Regions from separate parts of the Homo sapiens genome. Here all the other regions are linked to region 2. Evidence: promoter capture Hi-C in 16 types of primary human blood cells and fetal thymus (Javierre and others, 2016). All regions are on one chromosome and are shown on one strand. The core of a region is centred on a gene start or on the middle of the fragment in contact, and the rest is flanking DNA. Distances in the headings are between cores, read along the strand shown. Region 1 has its middle 2.7 kb from the start of NEMP1. Region 2 holds the start of BAZ2A (bromodomain adjacent to zinc finger domain 2A). Region 3 overlaps ZBTB39 (zinc finger and BTB domain containing 39). Region 4 overlaps NEMP1 (nuclear envelope integral membrane protein 1). Region 5 holds the start of STAT2 (signal transducer and activator of transcription 2).

What was found. The method cuts DNA at HindIII sites, captures the fragments that hold promoters and counts their contacts. A CHiCAGO score of 5 or more calls a contact.
Region 1: a contact is called between a fragment that was not itself captured here and the fragment with the promoter of BAZ2A in region 2, in 8 of 17 cell types (fetal thymus, total CD8 T cells, naive CD8 T cells and 5 more). The highest score is 8.5, in fetal thymus.
Region 3: a contact is called between a fragment that was not itself captured here and the fragment with the promoter of BAZ2A in region 2, in 4 of 17 cell types (megakaryocytes, naive B cells, endothelial precursors and 1 more). The highest score is 7.5, in megakaryocytes.
Region 4: a fragment that was not itself captured here is called in contact with the fragment with the promoter of BAZ2A in region 2 in 5 of 17 cell types (naive B cells, total B cells, naive CD8 T cells and 2 more); the score reaches 7.2 in naive B cells.
Region 5: a fragment that was not itself captured here is called in contact with the fragment with the promoter of BAZ2A in region 2 in 1 of 17 cell types (endothelial precursors); the score reaches 6.4 in endothelial precursors.

Annotation. Positions count from the first base shown.
Region 1 is chr12:57,080,157-57,082,856 of GRCh38, reverse strand. It overlaps a transcript of NEMP1 not described here. Among named protein-coding and RNA genes, the nearest start is that of NEMP1, 2.7 kb to the right of the region's middle. The HindIII fragment of the contact is 3,582 bases long and covers 1-2,700 here.
Region 2 is chr12:56,629,070-56,631,769 of GRCh38, reverse strand. It overlaps BAZ2A (bromodomain adjacent to zinc finger domain 2A), which reads left to right and starts at 1,444. Exons shown (of 29, transcript NM_001300905.2): 1 at 1,444-1,645. RefSeq lists enhancers at 1,138-1,207, 1,238-1,287 and a silencer at 1,508-1,857. The HindIII fragment of the contact is 7,835 bases long and covers 1-2,687 here.
Region 3 is chr12:56,999,302-57,002,001 of GRCh38, reverse strand. ZBTB39 (zinc finger and BTB domain containing 39) reads left to right here. Exons shown (of 2, transcript NM_014830.3): 2 at 1-2,700. Among named protein-coding and RNA genes, the nearest start is that of ZBTB39, 5.9 kb to the left of the region's middle. The HindIII fragment of the contact is 2,971 bases long and covers 1-2,700 here.
Region 4 is chr12:57,063,598-57,066,297 of GRCh38, reverse strand. NEMP1 (nuclear envelope integral membrane protein 1) reads left to right here. Exons shown (of 9, transcript NM_001130963.2): 5 at 1,559-1,652; 6 at 2,113-2,227. Among named protein-coding and RNA genes, the nearest start is that of NEMP1, 14 kb to the left of the region's middle. The HindIII fragment of the contact is 9,125 bases long and covers 1-2,700 here.
Region 5 is chr12:56,357,581-56,360,280 of GRCh38, reverse strand. STAT2 (signal transducer and activator of transcription 2) reads left to right here and starts at 174. Exons shown (of 24, transcript NM_005419.4): 1 at 174-223. RefSeq lists enhancers at 1-31, 1,107-1,276, 1,108-1,307. The HindIII fragment of the contact is 832 bases long and covers 898-1,729 here.

The DNA.
Region 1 (2,700 bases), core at 66-2,565, 450 kb before region 2:
TATTCTTTGTAGAGACGGGGTTTCACTATGTTGCCCAGGCTGGTCTCAAACTCCTAGGCTCAAGTGATCCACCTGCCTCGGCCTCCCAAGACATTGGGATTACAGGCATGAGCCACTGCACCTGCCCAATTTATTCATTTTTTTAGCAACAAGGTCTTACTCTGTCACCCAGGGTGGAGTGCAGAGGCATGATCATGGCTCACTGCAGGCTCAACCTCCCAGACTCAAGTGATCGTCCCATCTCAGCCTCCTGAGCAGCTGGGACTACAGGCACGTGCCAACACACTTGGCTAATTTTTGTATTTTTGTAAAGACAGAGTCCTACTATGTTGCCCAGGCTGGTCTTGAATTCCTGGGCTCAAGCCATCCTCAGACCCGGTCTCCTAAAGTGCTGGGATCACAGGTGTGAACCACTGAGGCTAGCCAACTTTATTTTTAGAAACATTACATGTACAGAAAAATTGAAAAGATAATATGGTGAATTCCTATATACCCTACATTCAATTTCCTCAATTATTATCTGACATTAGTATGGTACATTTAGCACCATTAATGAAACAGTATTGAAACATTATTATTAACTAAAGTCTACAGTTTATTCAGATTTCCTTTGAGTTTTTGTTGTTGTTGTTGTTGTTTAGACTGAGTCTTACTCTGTCACCGGGCTGGAGTGCAGTGGCACTGATCTTGGCTCACTGCTGCAACCTCCGCCTCCCAGGTTCAAGTGATTCTCCTGCCTCAGCCTCCTGAGTAGCTGGGTTTACAGGTGCCCGCCATACGCCCAGCTAATTTTTGTATTTTTAGTAGAGACGGGGTTTCACTATGGTGGCCAGGCTGGTCTTGAACTCCTGATCTCGTGATTCGCCCGCCTTGGCCTCCCAAAGTGCTGGGATTACAGGCGTGAGCCACCATGCTCAGCCTCCGTGTTTTTTTTTGTTTTCTTATTTTTTGAGACGGAGTCTTGCTCTGTCGCCCAGGCTGGAGTGCAGTGGAGCGATCTCAGCTCACTGCAAGTTCCGCCTCCCAGGTTCACACCACTCTCCTGCCTCAGCCTCCTGAGTAGCTGGGACTACAGGTACCTGCCACCACGCCCGACTAATTTTTTTTATTTTTAGTAGAGACGGGGTTTCACCATGTTAGCCAGGATGGTCTCCATCTCCTGACCTCATGATCCGCCCGCCTCAGCCTCCCAAAGTGCTGGGATTACAGGCATGAGCCACCGTGCCCAGCCTCGTTTTTTTAAACTAATGTGTTTTTCTGTTCCAGGATCCCATCTAGACCACCACATTATGTTTAGTTCTCAAAAACATAATGGGCTGGGCATGGTGGCTCATGCCTGTAATCCCAGCACTTCGGGAGGCCGAGGCGGGCAAATCACCTGAGGTCGGGAGTTCAAGACCAGCTTGACCAACATGGAGAAACCCCATCTCTACTAAAAATATGAAATTAGCTGGGCGGGGTGGCACACACCTGTAATCCCAGCTACTTGGGAGGCTGAGGCAGGAGAATCGCTTGAACCTGGGAGGGGGAGGTTGCGGTGAGCCAAGTTTGTGCCATTGCACTCCAGCCTGCTCAACAAGAGTGAAACTCTGTCTCAAAAAACAAAAACAAAAAAGCCCATAATGATGTTTGGATGACTTTGACAGCTTTGAGGAGTACTGGTCAGGTATTTTGTAGGATGCCTCTATTGGAATTTGTCTAATGTTTTTCTCAAGATTAGAGTGGTGTTATGGGTTTTGGGAAGGAAAACCACAGAGTTAAAATGCCATTTTCATCTCATGTTATCAAGGGTACATAGTATCAACATGATTGATGCTGACTTCCCTAGGTCAGCTGAGGGAGTGTGTGTGTGAAATACAGGATGACCATATCAGCACTGTTGGCCTAGACTTTTCCTTCTGAGAATGAAATCTCTTCTCTTGCCCATAGCTCAGCCCCATTTTGACTTTTTTTTTTTTTTTTTGAGACAAGAGAGGCTCGCTCTGTCACCCAGGCTGGAGTGAAGTGGCATGATCTCGGCTCACTGCAACCTCTGCCTCCTGGGCTCAAGCAATTCTTCTGTCTCAGACTCCTAAGTAGCTGGGATTACAGGAACCTGCCACCATGCTGGGCTAATTTTTGTATTTTTATTAGAGATAGGGTTTTGCTGTGTTGGCCAGGCTGGTCTCGAACTTCTGGCCTCAAGTGATCCTCCCACCTCAACCTCCCAAAAGTGCTGGGATTACAGGCATGAGCCACCATGCCCAGCCCATTTTGACTTTTTTTTTTTTTCTCTTTTGAGACAGAGTCTTGCTCTGTCACCCAGTCTGGAGTGCAATGGGGCGATCTTGGCTCACTGCAGCCTCCGCCTCCTGGGTTCAAGGGATTCTCCTGCCTCAGCCTCCTGAGTAGCTGGGCTTACAGCCACCTACCACCATGCCTGGCTAATTTTTGTATTTTTAGTAGAGACGGGGTTTTGCCATGTTGGCCAGGCTGGTCTCGAACTCCTGACCTCAGTTGATCCACCCGCCTCGGACTCCCAAAGTGTTAGGATTACAGACCTGAGCCACCATGCCCGGCCCATTTTGACTTTTAAAAAGGTCCTTGTTTTAGACCAGGTGCAGTAGCTTACTCCTGTAATTTCAGTAATTTGGGAGGCCAAGGTGGGATAATCACTTGAGGCCAGGAGTTTGAGGTCAGCCTGGGCAACATAGCAAGATA
Region 2 (2,700 bases), core at 195-2,694:
AGGAAAACGTATTTGTTGACACCCCAACTTGCCAGAGTTTCATCATCCCCACTCTGTTGCTTTTCCAGAATATTCAGCAGCCTGAGCTTTGCACAGTTTAGGCAACTGTTTCTAGAACTGCATTGCATTGAATTAAATGGGAATTATCTTCAAGGCTGCAAAGTGTTGAGTTGCAAGGAAAGGAAACCTGGTTTCCTTTCTTGTCATATTTTATCCACTGTTTGACATTGAAGAAGTCATTGAACCTCTTTGGGTCTTAATTTCTTCATTTGATGAAGGAGAGAAGGTTGAACTAGAATTTTTTTTTTTTTTTTTTTTTGAGATAGAGTCTCCCTCTGTCACCCAGGCTGGAGTGCAATGGCGCGATCTCAGTTCACTGCAACCTCCACCTCCCAGGTTCAAGCGATTCTCTTGCCTCGGCCTCCTGAGTAGCTGAGATTACAGGGGCACGCCACCACACCCAGCTAATTTTTGTATTTTTAGTAGAGACCGGGTTTCATCATGTTGGTCAGGCTGGTCTTGAACTCCTGACATCATGATCCACCTGCCTCGGCCTCCCAAAGTGCTGGGATTACAGCCGTGAGCCACCGCGTCCGGCCTGAACTAGAAATTCTCTAAGCTCTAACATCATATGACACTGTTCTTCATCCTGGTGCCCTGCAGTGGACATTTTAGGTGACAGCCAAACTCTAGTCCTCTGCTAGATTTTACTTTTCTGAGTTTTCACACAGTTATGTAGCCCTGTCAGAAAAAAATTCCCAGAACCATAGAATGGGTGGACATTTGTGGCATCTTTTTGCTGATTAGTTTTCAGCTTATCCTTTACTTCTCTGACTGCATTTAGGCTACACTCAGGTCTTTGCTGTCTGGTTCCAGAGCCGAACCTTCTTTCCCCCACGCACAGGAATCTTTCCTTTCCGGTGACCAGGGCCCTGCAGATGTCGCCAGGAAAGTGGTGATCCAGGCAGGACCAGGCTGCACTGAAGGGACAGAGGTGAGTGGGTGGCTGACTCTTGCCTCTCCCCATCCCTTTACTGAATCGCGACCTGAGTGACTAACCTTTCTATTTCCACGTTTCCATTACCCTACCTGGGAAATAACTGCCCCCGAAATTCCCCTGACTCTTACCCCTACCAGCCTGTTAGAGAAGTGGCACCTGCCTTTGGGCCTAGACGTTTGGTCTAGTCTTTTAAGTTAACCTTGGGACTGTGGCATGCCTTTCAGTTTGCCCTGTGTGAAGCAGGACCACTGCCTCCATGAGATGCGGGTGCAGAGGGAGCTGCCAGGTGGGCAAGGTGGCCAGAGTTGCAGGAGGCACAGCGGCGCTAGGACCCAGGTCCGGGTCGGAAAGATGGGCTGGCGGGCTTTAGGACCCTGTGGCGGAGGCCGCGTGGGGAGACTCTCTCCCGGCCGAGGCTTCTCCGCCCCCTCCGGCTCCGACTCACTCCTCCCCCGCCGGCCATGTTGGCTCCTCTCGGGCCCCGCGGTTGAGCCGCGTCCCCCTCCCCCTTCCCGAACCCCGGACCCCAGACCCCCTCCCCAGCGGGCGTCTCCACCCGTTCTGGCGCCCGGAGCGCGGCCATGTGAACCGCTTGTACCCCGGGGAGAGACGAGCCCCGAGCCCGGCTGGACGCCGCTGCCTCAGGTTTGTGGGGTCTGTGGCCAGGGGCCTGAGGGGGAGGGAGCCCCGCTTTCATCCGAGGCTTCCCTCGGGGAACAGAAGCTCCAGAGCCGGCTTGAGCCTTGCCGGGGCGGGAAGCCGACGGGAGCTTATTTCCTGCGAGGATCCAACCCGAGGCGAGGGTCTCCTTGCTCTGGGGTCTGGGAGGAGAACAGGGCTGGTGGGGCTGCTGAGGACCCCGGACGGGGCCGCGGGGGCAGGAGGAGCTGTAGGGGCTCCCGGCGACAGTGAGGAGGCGGAGAAGCCGCCTGGCTGGTGGAGATGACTCCTGTGGGGGACTTGGGGTGGAATCCCCGGGAGGGGCTCCACCTCCTCGGGTGGGGGTGGGGATTGCCTGAGCGCGAGGGGTGGGTGAGGGGGTTCCCTTGGCGGGTTAAAACGCTCCGTTTGCGGGGAGCTGGGCGTTTTGACTGTGGTGAGTGGAGGGCGGAAGGGGTTTCCAGGGGTCTGAGGGTGTCTCCCTCGGGGAGCGCACCCATTCTCTTGAGCGTGAAGATCAGGAGAGGGCCTTCCTTGCTGAGGGTGGTGCTGCGCTTGGCTTGGGGCCCTCGCGTCCCGGGAGAATCGCGCACTCCGGGGATGGAGGTTGATAGGGCTTCCGCTGAGGCTTTCCAATTTGAGCTGGGCTGAGGGGCAGAAGGGAAGAATAAAGAGGAATTCCTTTTTCCAAGGAGATTCCTCACTGAGGGGATCCCCGCTTCCGTGGCAGAAAGATGATACCGCATCATCCCTTTCTTTCCCGGTGTTCCCAGTTTTCAGGAGAAGGCAATGTCAATAGCAGTTGTCCTTTGTAGGGTTAATTGGAGTGAGAGATTTGTCTGCTTTGGGGGACGACGGAGGGGATAGCTTTCCACCTCTATCTGTACACAAACAGCCCCTCCCCCAGCCTCCCGCAGGAAGTGGCCGGGAAATGGCAGCTGTGCGTTTGCTGCTGCGTGTCTTGTTGTTTTGAAATGTCCATTTTAATCAGATTTGGTTTCATTTTCTGAAGCCTTCTGGGCAAGCTTGGATCTTGCCAA
Region 3 (2,700 bases), core at 103-2,602, 370 kb before region 2:
CGTCCGGCCTTCTGTGGGGCAGAGAGGATAGGGAACCACTTTGATATAGTCATCTGTTTTGGCCACTTCTGTTGGCCATGAGTGTCTTGGTGGAGAGGTGGGGATGTATCTGACAGCAGCAGCCTTGCCTTAATTTATATCTGGTCTCCCGTCCAGAAGTGTTTGGCCCGTGGTGTAGATGAGCTGACTCCATGAAGTGGTGGAGTGGCAGACCGCGAGCCCTTCAGGATTAAAGGGACCTGAGTAACTGGTGGTGTGTAGCAGGGTGTGCGTTCTGACTGTCTGTCCTAGTCGGGTAACCTGTTTACTTTGTGCTAACAGTGCCGGAGCTTTGTCAGCTCACCTTTGACCTGCTGGAATTTATCCTGATCTGTCGTTGCCATCACCTCCAGGGGGCGCTATTGGATGGCAGCTGGTTCAGGCCCTCCGTGGGTGGCTGCAGAGTGTGCCGGCACAGCCCACGCAGCTGGTTAGCTCCACTCTTACTTGGTTTTCTAAGGGGCTTTGCCCAAAGAAGTCTTGAGGGATAGGGCCCTCGATCTTGCATACTTGTGAGGTGCCACCTCAGTAGCTCATACTACCTCACCCTGCTCAGGTGAGCTCTGGGAGTCCCTGGCCTCAGCCCTGGCACTGCCCCTGGTGGGATTCAGCAACACCCCGGGCTGTTTCACAAGCAAGTGGTTTTCATTAACTCACAAAGCCTTTTTGGACATTAATATTTATTTATTTTTGTTTTTGTATACACATTACCCAGCATCTCTTTTGTATAAGAGACTTTAGGAAAATGAGTTTCTCCCCAGCAAGTAGCCATATTCCAGAGAACAGCCTTGACCAGAGATGTGGAGAACCAGGGGTATAACTAAGGGAAGACATGTCAAGCCCTTAAGCAAATTCTTCTTCTCCAGATTGTCTCTAGCATAATAAACCCAGGGAACACTTTAGGCCATGGGTGTATGTTCTATAAAGTTCGGGACAGTTAAATTCCAGGCCTTTCATCCCCCTTCCTTCCTGTGATGGAGTAGATTGGGGACAGGGTTGAGGGGAACAAGTGACATGAATGACCTATTTGCACAGTTTGGAAGCCTCCTGTCTTTATTTATATTGAGATGTCAGACAAACCAAAGCTCCATCCTTGTTGGACCTGCTGCTTCTCCCCAGCCCTGAACTGATAAAGCCTCAGAGTTGGAGTGCCTGGCTCTCTGGTGGGGTGACCATTAGATGAAGGGACTTGTACAGTGGCCAGTTTAAAGGTCCACCTTTGACCATCTAAACCCACCTTGTTCAGTGTCCTCTGAGGACATCCTCATCAGGAAAGCAGTGTTGAGACTCTTCATTGCTGACTGGCTTCTCCCTTTCTTACTCACACTGACCATTAGAATTTAAGAAGGAAATGTGTAACAGACTACAGTCAAGTGTCTGCTACATTTTCAAGCATGAGCAATCCCTCCCAGACTGTTGGTGAGGACTGATTTTTGAAATGCTGGTGTGAGAGAGGTGGTAATTACAGGAACCAGCCGAGTGGCTGAGAGCAGATAAATGTGCTGGAGAAACCTTTTTCCTTAACAGAGGGCATCATGGATGCTGGGTGGTCTGTGTACTTAACCTGAAACTGTGAAGTTTTCCCTTTTTGCCAGTAAACCAAAAAGCAGATCCTTGAAACTTGGCCCTTGAAACACGAAACAGAAAACTGCATCCCCTGATCCCCCGGGGGCTGATCAGATTGATCAGGGTGGCTCAGTTGGTCCCAGTCAGATACGTCATAGGATCAGTAGCTCATGAGATTTGTTGACCAAACCCTCTCCCTGTTGGTGACCCCTGTATTCACACCTGAACTTCCCGTTTCCCCCCACCCCACCAAAGTCATGTCTGCTTCCTCTGCCTCCAGCTCACCCTCTTCTGAATGGTTTTGCTTGAAACACTATATTGTGGCAGAGGGCACCCTGGGATACCTGGTAGAAGGTATTCATTTTATTTTGCATTTTTAATTGTTTTGACTTTCTGTTCATTTGATTTTGTTGCTCCCTCTCTCCTGGAACCTAGTTTACTACTCTCTTCTGTGTTACTCTGAAGTTCTGTTTAAGCCTTGAACATCCTCTTCTCCCATTTTCTTGGTATGTACTCAGGACCAGCTACATCATTTGTGGAGCCCTCTTATTCATAAATTATTAAAAATTTCAAGGTGGTGGTCATAGAGCATTAAACCAAATATGAGGCCATTCCCAACTTGTTTTCCGAGGGGAAAATGGTAATACTTGTGTGGCACCCGGGGTTAAACAGCAGAGGCTCCATGTGGCCAGAGGCAGAGATTAGTATCCTGGCACTCCAGTGACCCACTGGGTGACTCACTGATGCCACAGCACCCGCTAGGAAGCTCTGCTGAACCTTAGTATTTGGTCCTAAATTTTATGACTCCATGGAGTTCCCGTAGTCCATGGCTAGTTAGGAAGAAAGGAGGTGGGATAAGGGTCAGGCCCAGGTGACCCCTAAGAACCAGGAGATGGGTAAAAGTTTTTTTTTATATTCTGCTTTTCTGATCTGTGAGTACCTGTTTGTCTCCAGGCCAAACCTTTGGGCTTAAATATCTTTTTCCTAGACAGGTTTTTGCTAGTGTTGAATTTTCTTCTTCCTCTGGCCTCCTTCTGTGCCCCTTTCCCCAAGCCCAAGACTGCTTAACTTCCAAAGCAAATTCTAGATAGACAC
Region 4 (2,700 bases), core at 54-2,553, 430 kb before region 2:
AAACCAGATACAACTCTTTTTTTGTTTGTTTGTTTGTTTTTTTGAGACAGAGTCTTGCTCTCTTGCCCAGGCTGGAGTGCAGTGGCGTGATCTCGGCTCACTGCAAGCTCCGCCTCCCAGGTTCATGCCATTCTCCTGCCTCAGCCTCCCTAGTAGCTGGGACTATAGGCGCCTGCCACCACACCCAGCTAATTTTTTTGTATTTTTAGTAGAGACAGGGTTTCACCGTGTTAACCAGGATGGTCTCGATCTCCGGACCTCGTGATCCTCCCATCTCAGCCTCCCAAAGTGCTGGGATTACAGGCTTGAGCCACCATGCCCGGCCAGATACAACTTTTTTAAAGCTAAAGGCTGATCCAGAGCAAGACCCTAACTGTCTTCAATTCTGTGAAGGGTGAGAGGTGAGGAAGCCTCAGAAGAAAAGTTTACAGCTAGTGAAGGTTCTTGGTTCATGAGATTTAAGGAAAGAAGCTGTCTTATTACATAAGTGCAAGGTAGGCTAGGCGTGGTGGCTCAGGCCTGTAGTCCCAGCACTTTGGGAGGCTGAGGCGGGCAGATCACTTGAGCCCAGGGAGTTCGAGACCAGCCTGAGCAACATGGTGAAACCCTGCCTTTACAAAAAATACAAAAAAGTCATGGTACCAGCTACTCGGGAGGCTGAGGTGGGAGAATCACCTGGGCCCAGTAGATCAAGGCTGCAGTGAGCCATGATGACGCCATCGCACCCCAGCTTGGGCAACAGAGTGAGACTTTGTCTCAAAAAAAAAAAAAAAAAAGATGAACCAAGCACTGATATAGAAGCTGTAGCAAGTTATTCAGAAGATCTAGCTAACATCATTGTTGAAAGTGGCTACAATTAAAGAGCTCCTCAGTGTAGACAAAATAGCCTTATACTAGAAGAAGATGCCATTGAGGACTTTGATAGCGAGAGAGAAGTCAGTGCCTAGCTTCAAAGGAGGGGTGATCCTCTTGTTAAGGGTTAATGCTGTTGGAGGATTGACTCCAGTTTTGAAAGAAGTTGTGGTAAAATGCTATCAGACAGTATTGCATGCTTTAGAGAAATCTTCATTGAAAGGATGAGTCAATGCAGCAAACTTCATTATATTTTAAGAAATTGCCACAGCCACTCCAGCCTTCAGAAACCACTGCCTTCATCAGTCAACAGCCATCAACATGGAAGTGAGACCCTCCACCAGCAAAAAAAATGATGACTCACTGAAGGCGTAGATGATCTTTAGCAGGTTTTAGCAAAGTATTTTTAATTAAGGAATATATATTTTTAAGACATAATGCTGTTGTACACTTAATATACTATAATATAGTGTAAACAATTTTTATATGCAGTGGGAAACCAAAAAATTTGTGTGACTTACTTACTGCAATTGCAATATTTGGTTTATTGCAGTGGTCTGGAACCAAATTTGAAATGTCTCTGATGCTTGTACTGCTCTAATCTTGTACCTTTTAAAATCTTTCGGCTGGGTTAGTTGTCCTAGTTTCAACAGTGCTATGTATGAAATATATACATATGGTCATGAAATACATTTTTTTCCTGCAGAAGTCAAATTTTCTACTACTCTACTGGGATGACTGTGGGAATTGTGGCCTCTCTGCTAATCATCATTTTTATACTATCTAAGTTTATGCCTAAGGTAAGTATCAGAATCTTCATGTGCAGCTAGAATGAATTTGGATAGCTGAAGGACTGTTTTCCTGGGTAATCTTAGAAAACTGAAAATGTGTATTGATGGCTGATGAGTCAATATCCTACTCTCCTTGATTCAGAAAGGTACTTTCCACGATGAAACTTGGAGCCTGATTACAAATTCTTTCTTTTTATATAAAATCCTGTGCTCAGAGGGGGATTAAAGTCTGCTTCCTGTTTTTTAATTATATAGCCAGGCTTTTAAGTTATTTAGCATTTCATCTTCCCAGTGTTCGTTGCAGACTGTACCATTTTAAGTATAAAGGACATCTTTTTAAGAGAAGTGTTTTTTGTGCATTTTGAGTAGGTTGAATTTTTTAAAAAAAAAATCATAGTTCCATTTTGCTTCTTTTATGTATGGAAAGCCTGTTGTAACTTTTTGCTTTCACTTCTACTCTCTGTCTTAGAAAAGTCCCATTTACGTCATCCTGGTGGGAGGCTGGTCTTTTTCTCTGTACCTCATTCAACTAGTTTTTAAAAATTTACAAGAGATCTGGAGGTGTTACTGGCAGTATCTTTTAAGTAAGTGTTGTCGGTTTTGCTTTCCTTTTGTACGTTTATAGGCTGTTTCAGTTAATTTGATCATGAAAAGATTTTGCCTGCTTATGGGATTTAATAGTTCATGTCATTTTTTTAAACTTTTAAAAATCATAGTTTTTCACTTATTTCTAATCCCTCTACAATTATCACCTTCTCTTAAATTAGAATGGTGCTGTTAAGGCGAAGATGTTCATTTATTGGTATTTATAAATATACCTTTCTTTACACAATAAACATCTTTCTGAAAAGCTGTAAGTTGACTTTATTAATGGAATCATATTTTAAATATACTTGGGGACCTTAAGTAAAAGACTCCGCAGTTAATTTTTTTCTCCTTCATTTCTGAATGAACTGCTGTAGATTTTATTTACAAAGTAAAAATCCTTGGTCATATAGATAGTAACCTTTGAGTTATCCTTTGAAGGGTGATTAATCTGGATTTCTGTATATTGGTT
Region 5 (2,700 bases), core at 64-2,563, 270 kb after region 2:
TCGCAGTCTGGGAAGGGCTTGACTGAATGGCAGCCAGTGTCGGGGTGGCGGCTGGGAATGGGGGCCGCTCCGGACTTCCGCTGCCAACTACAAGGGGGCGGGTCCGAGGGGGGTTAGCCGAAGTTGTAGGCGGGGCGCGAGGTTCTAGTACCCGAGCTCATACTAGGGACGGGAAGTCGCGACCAGAGCCATTGGAGGGCGCGGGGACTGCAACCCTAATCAGGTACGGGCCCTGAGAGGGTGTGCTGGGGTAGGGGTGGGGGTGAGAGTGAGAGTTCCTCCGAGGGAAGGGCGACTGGCCCCAGGGGTTACCCCCTGGAGAGGGTAGCTTCGGTCCCCAGATTGAAATAGGAGCTGTCGCCTGCTCGGTCCTCGATCTTCTTCTGTCCAGCCTATCTCCCTAACCCTAATGCCCCTCTCCCAAAACTGCCCTGCAGCTTCCGAGACCCGGAATCTGGCATTGTTATGTTGGTTCGGTATCTGACGTTTTTCCCTCTGCTCTGCATTATTTTTTATCTTCACCAAAAAACGATGTTCAAAGATAGATAAATCTAAAAACAAAGATAGATAAATCTATTATCCTTGTTTTGTTAAAAAGTATAAGCTACTGAAAGATGAAACGATTGCCTAAGGTCACACACAAAATTCAGTTCATTTCAGAAAAGCTTCTTGAGTGCAAAATATGTGCCTAAGAATGAGAGATAATGAGAAAAAATTGTTTCAGCCCTTAACCTCAGTGTTTGCAATCCATTTGGGGAGACCAGGTTTTTTGTTTTGTTTTCATATTTGAATCTTTGCTGACTTGCTCCTTTAATATCAGACACTTAAATCCTCAAGAATTGGGACCTCATCATTAATTTTTTTTTGGAGATGGAATCTCACTATGTTGCTCAAGCTTGGTCTCAAACTCCTGGGCTCAAGCCATCCTCTCGTCTTGTGGGCCTCACAAAGTGCTGGGATTACAGGCATGAGCCATCATGCCTGGCCACCTGATCATTTTTTTAACTTTTTTTTGGTATCATAAAAGCAATACAGATACATAGTTTTAAAAATCAAGCACTACTAAAAGAGTTAAAATGAAAATAGCCCCTGCCCAATCCCTCCCTTCCCTTGTTCCTGCTGGAGGTAGAAAGGCAGCTGATGTTATTCATGTTAGTAGAAGACTCTCCCACCCCAAGCATTTCTCTTTATTTTGTAATAAAATCATGTGACCTTTTTAGACCACAAATATGCATGAATTCTGTTCTGTTAGGCTCAGGCTGCAACAAGCATAAGTTTCAGTTTCCTAAATAGACACCAGCTGGCAGTGAGCAGGGAACAGTGGGGAGAAAGATGCATGGGACAGCCTGCTTGGTGACAGGCAAAAACCAATTTGTTGTTCTTTTGAGACAGAGTCTTGCTTTGTCACCCAGGCTGGAGTGTAGTGATGTGATCTCTGCTTACTGCAACCCCTGCCTCCTGGGTACAAGCCATTCTCCTGCCTCAGCCTCTTGAGTAGCTGGGATTACAGGCAACAATTTTAAGTGAAGTTTCAGGATCTCACAAAGTTGATAACCTATAATCATATTCAAGATTCACAGGTCATAAACGTGTCATATTCTTGGGATTGAGCCACCCATTGCACAGCATTTAGATGTCTTCTAGAATGGAGCTCCTCCTTCCTATATGGAGGGCAGTTTATATGGTGTACTTACCTGACCACCAAAAAGATTTGGCTCCTAAAAAAGCTTCAGGTGGCCGGGCATGGTGGTTCACCCCTGTAATCCCAGCACTTTGGGAGGCCAAGGTGGGCAGATCACCTGAGGTCAGAAGTTCCAGACCAGCCTGGACAATATGGTGAAACCCCATCTCTACTAAAAATACAAAAATTAGCTGGGCATGGTAGTGGGCGCCTGTAATCCCAGCTAGTCGGGAGGCTGAGGCAGGAGAATCCCTTCAACTCGGGAGGCAGAGTTTGCAGTGAGCCGAGATCGTGTCACTGCACTCCAGCCTGGGTGACAGAGCAAGACTCCATCTCAAAAAAAGAAAAAAAAAAAAAGAAAAAAAAAAGCTTCAGAGCCAGCAGGGATCATGCTGTAATAAATACTTAACATCAACACTGATCTTTAAATGCTTTAGCACAATCAAATATAAATAACAAACACACACATAAATGCAAAATAAATGAATTAGGGAGATAGATGAAATAAGATTGTGGAAATAGTAATGTTTGTTAAAGCTGGATGGTGATCCTTGTACTATTCACTCTACTCTAGTGTGTATTTGAAAATTACCATTAGGCTGGTTATGGTGGCTCATGCCTGTTAATCCCGGCATTTTGGAAGGCTGAGGCAGGCGGATTACTTGAGCTCAGGAGTTTGAGATCTGCCTGGGCAACATGGCAAAATCCCATCTCTACAAAAAATTAGCTGGCATGATGGCACACTCCTGTAGTCCCAGCTCCTTGAGGGGCTGAGGCAGAGAATGGCTTGAACCTGAGAGGTCAAAGCTGCAGTGAGCCAAGATCATGCCACTGCACTCCAGCCTGGGTGACCAAGTGAGACCCTGTCTCAAAAAAAAAAAAAAAAAAAGAAAGAAAATTCCCATTAAAGCACAAAGGCCCACTTATTGAAGCTATTAAAATACAGGTTGGGGCCGGCTGGGCACAGCGGCTCACGCCTGTAATCCCAGCACTTTGGAAGGCCGAGGTAGGCAGATCAC